Regions from separate parts of the Homo sapiens genome. Here region 2 is linked to region 1. Evidence: promoter capture Hi-C in human tissues and cell types (Jung and others, 2019). All regions are on one chromosome and are shown on one strand. Each heading gives the region's core, a stretch centred on a gene start or on the middle of the fragment in contact. The rest is flanking DNA. Distances are from core to core; before and after follow the strand shown.

Region 1 (3,637 bases), core at 711-3,210:
ATTCATATCTCTTTGATTTTTAAACACTGAAATAAAGACAAAGCAGACCTTGAGCTGTACTTCCCCATCTTATCCCCCCCCCCAACAGGAACCTTGTTGAATACAAATAGCAATTTAAGAATTTACAAGACGAAATTTAGTTCACTATATTTCCTAAATATGAGTTCTAGAGGCCTTGTCTTATTTTCAAATCCCTGAATCTTATTTCTGATGATAAGGGGGACTAACCCTGAGGTTATTCACATGACTAAATCCGCATTTCGAGGAAAGCAAGGGCCCTAACATTTTGAAATATAGGTATTTTAATTAGGAAAAAAATCTAAGAATCAAAGATACTTGATTCCAACCATGTCTCACCCCACCCTACCACGCAAAAGCATTAAAACCACAGGACCCACAGACATGACCTTTCGTTTAATACTACAGTATCGCACAATTATAAATGTGTGGGTATTTCAAAAGGTGGTCCAAAAGGTGGACTGGGAGAGAGGATTAAGAATAAACTTCCTGACAATGACTGGACAGACACAATGGACATTCGATGAAGTTCTGAAAAAGGACTGGAGAACCCATTAGGGGCAAAAGAACAACGAACAAAGAGGACCTACTAATATTTCTACATAAACCCATTTATTTAAAACGGAAAAAAAGAAAGCAACAGGATCTTCAACCTTCATAACTCAAAAAACCCAGCCTCAGCCGAGCGCCTGGAATAGGTTAAGATCCCCCACGAAGTACAGACCAGCATTCCGAGCCTGCAGAGTCAACCAAAATACAGTTACTGAACACTATTGGAAATAACTTTATTTCAACAGGTCTTCCCATTTGTCATCACGGTGCGCACAAACTGTAAAGTCATCGTTTTTACAAACGGGGGGACGGAGGCTCGGGCTCTACAAAGGCTCGAACTCTCAGAGTCGTGGCCTCCTGGTTCTATCCATCAGAACCCACGGGTGATGGAGCCAGAGAAAGGTTACAGGAACTTCGAGATCTCCTGTTTTAAGTCTGAGGAAAGGGAGGGAGTGAGGATTTTCTGGGCCTCCCCAGAAGACGACGAGGAGGAAAAGCCCCGAAACCCCTCACTACGAGGTGCCGGCCTACGGGAAAGAAACCCGATCGCAGCATGGGAGCCTGCCACCGCCCGAAGACGAACTGCAGTGATTCCCACTCACCCCTCTCCCCCCACCATCATCCACGACTGTCCCCCACCTCAGGCCTGAGGAAGCCCATCGCTCTCAAAGGTCCTCCTTTGTGAGACTCCACGGCCGCCGCCCCACACGGGGCCTCCGGGGAAAAGCCACCGCCCCCACCCGCCATATTTCCCTGAAAGGCGCCCGCGCTACAGCTCCCGGTCTTCGCTCTCTCCCATGTGGCGGGTGCTGCTTCCCCCGTCACCCCACCCAATTGTTCTCCACATCCCAAGGCCGTCCCAGAAGCTCCCATGAGGGTGGCTCGTTCGGAGACAGCACCCGCCATCTCCTCCCCCTCCCCCGCCCCGGGACTCGCCCTCCCCCCAGCCGCCATTTTACAACCAACTCCTCCACCCCGTCGCCCCGGCCTCCCGGCCCGCGAGTTGTTTGCAGTTAAGGACGGCGAAGGGGTCACATTCCAGGGCATAGAGCCTCCCATCGCCCCGGGAGCTCCCAGGCCATTTCCTGCTTCCCGAACCCAAGCCCCCGGGCCAGGCTCGCAGACGATGCCGCCATTTTGTCTCCTGTTCCCGGCCTCTGTGGGCGGCGGCAGAGGGTCCGAGAATTCCAGCCCCCCGTTGCCCCCCCAACTCACCGTCGTATCGCTCAGCCTGCTCGGCCAGCTTCGCCTGGTACACCAGATCCTCTCGATCATCCATAGCGGCAGCGGCTCCGGCAGGGTCTGCGCGACGGATGGAAGCGGATAGTGTCTCCGACTCTCTCAGCCTCTCGCTCCGCGTCCGGGCAGCAAAAATGGCGGCGCCTCAATCCGGGACTTCCGCCTGCGCACGCGGACAACTGCTCAGCTCTATGGCAACCGCTCCCTGGCAACTGGCGCGGGGGGCGGGTCCTGGAACTCGGCGCCCGAAGCGGCTGGAACGAGCGCACGAGACGCCTCTCCTCTGTCGGCTCAGCGGGCGCCGGAGCCCAGAGGCGGGAACTGCGACTGCCGAAAGGGAGCGGCCCCCGGGGAACGAGAAGGGCTGAGGCGGGGCCGGCCGGGACTGCTCCTGAAAAAAGCCAGCGAGAGACCTGGGTCAGACCGGGGCCCGAGGCCCGACCTGCGGAAAAGAACGACGGAGGCTGTAACGGTTTCTGTCATGGCAGGTCTTCTTTCCCGAAATCTGAGGCTGTCACTACCGCGCCCTGGTTTTCTTTTCTTTTTTCTTTTTTCTTTTTTCTTTTTGAGACGGAGTTTCCCTCTTGTTCCCCAGGCTGGAGTGCAGTGGTGCGATCTCGGGTTACCACAACGTCCGCCTTCCCGGGTTCAAGTGATTCTGCTGCCTCAGCCTCTCGAGTAGCTGGGATTTCAGGCCCCCGCCACCACCCCCAGCTTTTGTATTTTTAATAGAGATGGGGTTTCACCATGTTGGCCAGGCTGGTCTCGAACTCCCGACCTCAGATGATCCGCCCCCCCTCGGCCTCCCAAAGCGCTGGGATTCCAGGGGTGAGCCACCGCGCCCAGCCCACGTCCTAGTTTTCTCGGCCAAGCCTGGTCATGGGCCTTTTTCAGACACTTTTAGACTCAGGGTAACGAACCGGGCCCTGGCCGGGCGCGGCGGCTCATGCCTGTCATCCCAGCACTTTGGGAGGCCAAGGCGGGAGGATCACAAGGTCAGGAGTTCGAGACCAGCCTGGCCAATATAGTGAAACCCCGTCTCTACTAAAAATACAAAAAATTAGCTTGGCATGGTGGTGCATGCCTGTCATCCCAGCTACTCAGGAGGCTGAGGCAGGAGAATCTCTTGAACCCGGGAGGCGGAGGTTACAGTGAGCCGAGATCCTCCCATTGCACTCCAGCCCAGGCGACAGTGTGAGACTGTGTTTCAAAAGAAAAATTATATATATATACAAAAATTAGCTGGGCGTGGTGGTGCATGCCTGTAATCCCAGCTACTCCAGAGGCTGAGGCAGGAGAATCGCTTGAACCCGGGAGTGGGAGGGTGCAGTGAACCGAGAGCACACCATTGCACTCCAGCCTGGGCAACAAGAGCACAACTCTGTCTCAAAACAAAGAAAAAGAAAAAAAACGAACTGGGCCCTGTTACAGTTGTCAGGGACAGGGGAGCTCCAGTTTTCACGCCTCAACTTTCCCCTCACACTGATCTTTGTCTTCTCCTGTTTAACCTTTTTCCCTCCCTAGGCCCACTATGAATAGGAGCAGGGAATTTGTTAGATGAGGGTGGTGTGGAGTACATGGTACAGAAGAGTTGGACCAAGATCAAATAAAGATTGTGGAGGCAGGAATAACTCAGTGAACATTGCTTCAGCTTCTGGCGCTTGGGAGGCCCATGCGGAAGGATGACTTGAGCCCAGCCTGGGCAACATAGCGAGACTCCATGTCTATAAAAACGTTTTTTTTTTTTTTTATTTGAGTCGGCATCTCGCTCTGTTGCCCAGGCTGGAGTGCAGTGTCGTGATCTCGGCTCACTGCAACCTCCACCTCC
Region 2 (3,837 bases), core at 1-2,500, 340 kb before region 1:
GCAGAGGGTGGTCAGCGGATCCCCTCAGCCTCCACCCCAGGCCGGCGGGAGGCAGACGGGGTATGAGACTCAGCTGAGTCTTGGTCCAACATCACCACCTGGTGGCCAGATGAAAAAGTTTCCGAAGGCCACGGCGGCCTTATATGTGAGCTGCCCGGGGTAGGGCTAGGGGGTCCTTCTCTCCTCCACTCAGCCTGGGGGGGTCCAGCACACCCACCATCCTGGCCCAGGGACTTAGTACCATTCCCCATGGGTACTGTCTCTCCCTCCAAATCCTGCCTATCCTGGCACTGAAAACTGACCAATATGATAAATCATTCTGCTAATGATTTATGTCGAGGAAAGCTTGCCTTCAGGACCCCGTTCACAAAGTGGACCCTTTCCCAGCACACAGGCAGCTAGAATACACCCACTCCGGTCAGTTCCCAGCCCTGATCACAGCTCCCCACTGCTCAAAACCCCCCCAGACTCCCGGGCTTACAGCATGAATTCCAAACTCCCTTGCTTGGGATTCAAGGCCTTTCAAGAGCTGGTCCCTGGAAACTTCCAGCCTCATTTCCCATACACCATTTTATCTACCGGGTCTGCTCTCTCATGAATATATTAACAGCACAATCTCAGTGCACCAGGGTGCCAGTTCTCCCAAGCCAGACAGAGGGGCCCAAGGAAAAGCTGGGGTCATCTGGGAACTCAGTAGACAGTCACCCCTACCCAAGCTGTGTCCTGGCCACTCAACAGTCTCAGCACAGCCGAGCAGGGATCAGCCATTTACAGCCACATGTCTGTCTGAGTCCTTACGGGAAGCCGGCCACGCTCTGAGGGCTGGGACCTGCCGGTTGGGCCACCTCTGGTTCCCGAGCTTACCGTCTTTATTGCTGGTGACAGGAATGTTGTGTACAGTCCTAAGCTTGAAACAGGATCCTGTGAGCACCTGGAGCTCCACTGAGCTCAGGACAAAGGCCTGGAGATCTGGAGGGAGAGCCGAGAGAGAAGGGAGCGTGGGCACTGGTCCACCAGGACCGGCTGCTCTTCCCTGGGGGCTGCTGCAGGAAGACGGCTTAATCCCTGGGGCAGACTTGGTCCTTGCGAGGGAGGGGGAAGGATTTGTGGACACAGCAGGACTGGTGTAGATGCTGCGAGAGGGGTCAGAGTAGGAGAATCTAACTGAAGAGGTTTGTGTGTGTGTGTGTGTGTGTGTGTGTGTGTGTGTGTGTGTGTGTGTGTGTGTGTGTGGTGTATGCGTTTTGTTTTCGTTTTTTTTTTAAACGGAGTCTCACTCTGTCGCCCAGGCTGGAGTGCAGTGCTGTGATCTCAGCTCACTGCAACCTCCGCCTCTCAGGTTCAAGGGATTCTCCTGCTTCAGCCTCCTGAGTAGCTGGGATTACAGGTGCCCACCACCACACCTGGCTAATTTTTGTGTTTTTAGTAGAGACGGGGTTTCACCACGTTGCCCAGGCTGATCTCAAACTCCTGACTGGGATTACAGGCGTAAGCCACCGTACCCAGCCTCTGTGTATGTGTGTATGTGTGTGTGTGTGTGTGTGTGTGTGTCTCTGTGTGTGTGTGTGTGAGAGAGAGAGAGAGGTAGAGAGAGAGAGAAAGCCCAGGCTGGGCTCTGGGTCCAGTCCCAGGACTAAATCATCATGTCTTTCAGCCAATCAGTTAGATTCTTTGGGTCTCAATTAATCCGTAACATCCTTAAACGCTCACCCTGGCACCTCTGAGGGTGACTGCGAGGGCCAAAGACGTGATACTGGACATGAAACGCTTAGAAATACAAAAGGCCCATCAATGCCACGGACATCATTGGGGAGCGTGGAAGAGGCAGGAATTTACCCTTCTTCTGTAGTTTCTGAATTGCTTCTCTCCACTCTGACCTCTCGTAGTCCGAGGACAGTAGGAACAGGTAACTCTGAAGAGAGGAGATAAGCATAAAGTGGGTGACCACAGTCAGGCAAAGCGTACTCCCAGATCCTGGGGACCCCAACAAAGCTCCTTTTATCTTTTTTTTTTTTTTTTTTTTGAGACAGAGTCTCGCTCTTGTTGCCCAGGCTCTAGTGCAATGGCAAAATCTCGGCTCACTGCAACCTCCACCTCCCGGGTTCACGCCAATCTCCTGCCTCAGCCTCCTGAGTAGCTGGGATTACAGGTGCCCACCACCACGCCCGGCTAATTTTTGTGTTTTTAGTAGAGACAGAGTTTTGCCATGTTGGCCAGGCTGGTCTCAAACTCTTGACCTCAGGTGATTCGCCTGCCTCAGCCTCCCAAAGTGCTGGGATGACAGGCATGAGCCACTGTGCCCGGCCCAAAGCTCCTCCTTATCCAGGCACAGCTGACCTTGCAGGAGGAGGCAGCTGGGGGTGGGTGGGTGAAGGGGGAGCTCCTTCCTGGGAAGCCAAGGTGACAGGAGCGGCTGTGCCAGGGACGGCCAGCAGAGGGCACTCATTCCACACGAGAGGGGAGAGCGAGTCAACAGCTGGAGCCATGGCAGCCTCCTCAGGAAGAGGGGGCCTGAGTTTCCGGTTCGTACAGGTCAGGGCCAGGAGCCACAGAGTGGGCTGCTCTGGACTAAGGAAGGGGCTGTCTTGGTCCCACCCCCACCCATCCTGACCTTTCCATTCCGATTGTGGATCCTGAACGGGATTGTGGGGGAGTTGAGCAGCAGCAGGAACTCATTCTCAAACATCTTCTTCTTCAGGCGCTCGATGGCCCGGCTCTGGCCTTTGTTGGCTTTCTGCAGGAGATGGGGACACAGAGGGTTCCCCTCACACTCGGGCCTTTCTCACGAGCAGCACTAAGCACGACACTCCACTGTGTGTTAACATGCTCTTTACATTTTCCGTATTTCGTGATGTTTTGACATCTTGTGGCAGGAGAGGCGGGTAGCTGGGTGAGAAACTGCTCCCCCACAGGGCTCACTAATTCCTAAGCCTGTCAGTGATGCCCTATGAGCACAGCTTTCATACACACACCCACTGATCCAGAGCCCATGTCCCCAACCACCTTCTCTACCTGACGCTCACTCGCCAAGCCAGCATCTCCTCTGCCCCACGTCACCCAGGGCCAGGGACCAGGTCACCAGAGACCACTCCTCTAGCCCAGGGCTGCCGACATAACGGAAGCCAGCTGGTGCCAAGCCCTTTCCCTGCCCTGTTTCTCCACAGAAAAGCTGTGGCCACACTTTCTTTCCATTCCTGCCTCCTGTTCAAAGCTGGCACCTCTCCACGTGGCCCTGGGCGGGGTGCTATGCCTCCTTCTCTTGAGAACCCTAAATAATACAAATATTACAGTAGTATTAACCTCTCTGTACTGTCACTCTGCTGCCTCTACACATTAAATCCTGGGTACAACAGAGACACCTGCTTAAAGAAACCTCAGACACCTTTCAGCCTGAAGCCCCACCTGCTAGCCTGGCACCAAGGCCCCCATGGCAGGGTTCCAGCCTCCCTGCCCGGCAGACAACCCACCAGGTCCCGTCGGCTCAGCCTCCCCCTCTCACCAGACATTCATCCTCTGCGGGCAGAGCCTGCTCCCTCAATGTTCCAAGTTTCTGTCTGTTTCGTAAAGGACCCCCTCCCTTTTATTAACCACCATTATGCTTCAAGTCTCAGCTCCCAAGGCCATCCTCAAGCTCCTCAGTTAGAATTCACCTCTATGGTGTTTTGTTCTTTTTAACCCACTGGACTGGCAAAATTGTAAAGAATGTTCACAGCCAGTGTTGTGACACTGTGGGGGACAGTCACCCTCACACACCGCAGGGGGAATGCCACCAGTCACAGCTTTTTCAGAGGTAAAAGCCTGTCAATTAAGCGCACACTCACCCTGCCCTGCCCATCC

Evidence for each region. Contacts are between HindIII fragments. The study calls those that stand out against the background at their distance.
Region 2: a fragment that was not itself captured here is called in contact with the fragment with the promoter of YWHAE in region 1 in 1 of the 25 tissues and cell types used here (pancreas).

The regions. Positions count from the first base shown.
Region 1 is chr17:1,398,262-1,401,898 of GRCh38, forward strand. It overlaps YWHAE (tyrosine 3-monooxygenase/tryptophan 5-monooxygenase activation protein epsilon), which reads right to left and starts at 1,961. Exons shown (of 6, transcript NM_006761.5): 1 at 1,786-1,961. The coding sequence starts at 1,849. RefSeq lists enhancers at 546-1,183, 1,184-1,821, 1,822-2,459, 3,402-3,637. The HindIII fragment of the contact is 19,322 bases long and covers 1-3,637 here.
Region 2 is chr17:1,056,134-1,059,970 of GRCh38, forward strand. It overlaps ABR (ABR activator of RhoGEF and GTPase), which reads right to left. Exons shown (of 23, transcript NM_021962.5): 11 at 2,612-2,734; 12 at 1,837-1,912; 13 at 865-969. Among named protein-coding and RNA genes, the nearest start is that of MIR3183, 35 kb to the left of the region's middle. The HindIII fragment of the contact is 4,335 bases long and covers 1-3,418 here.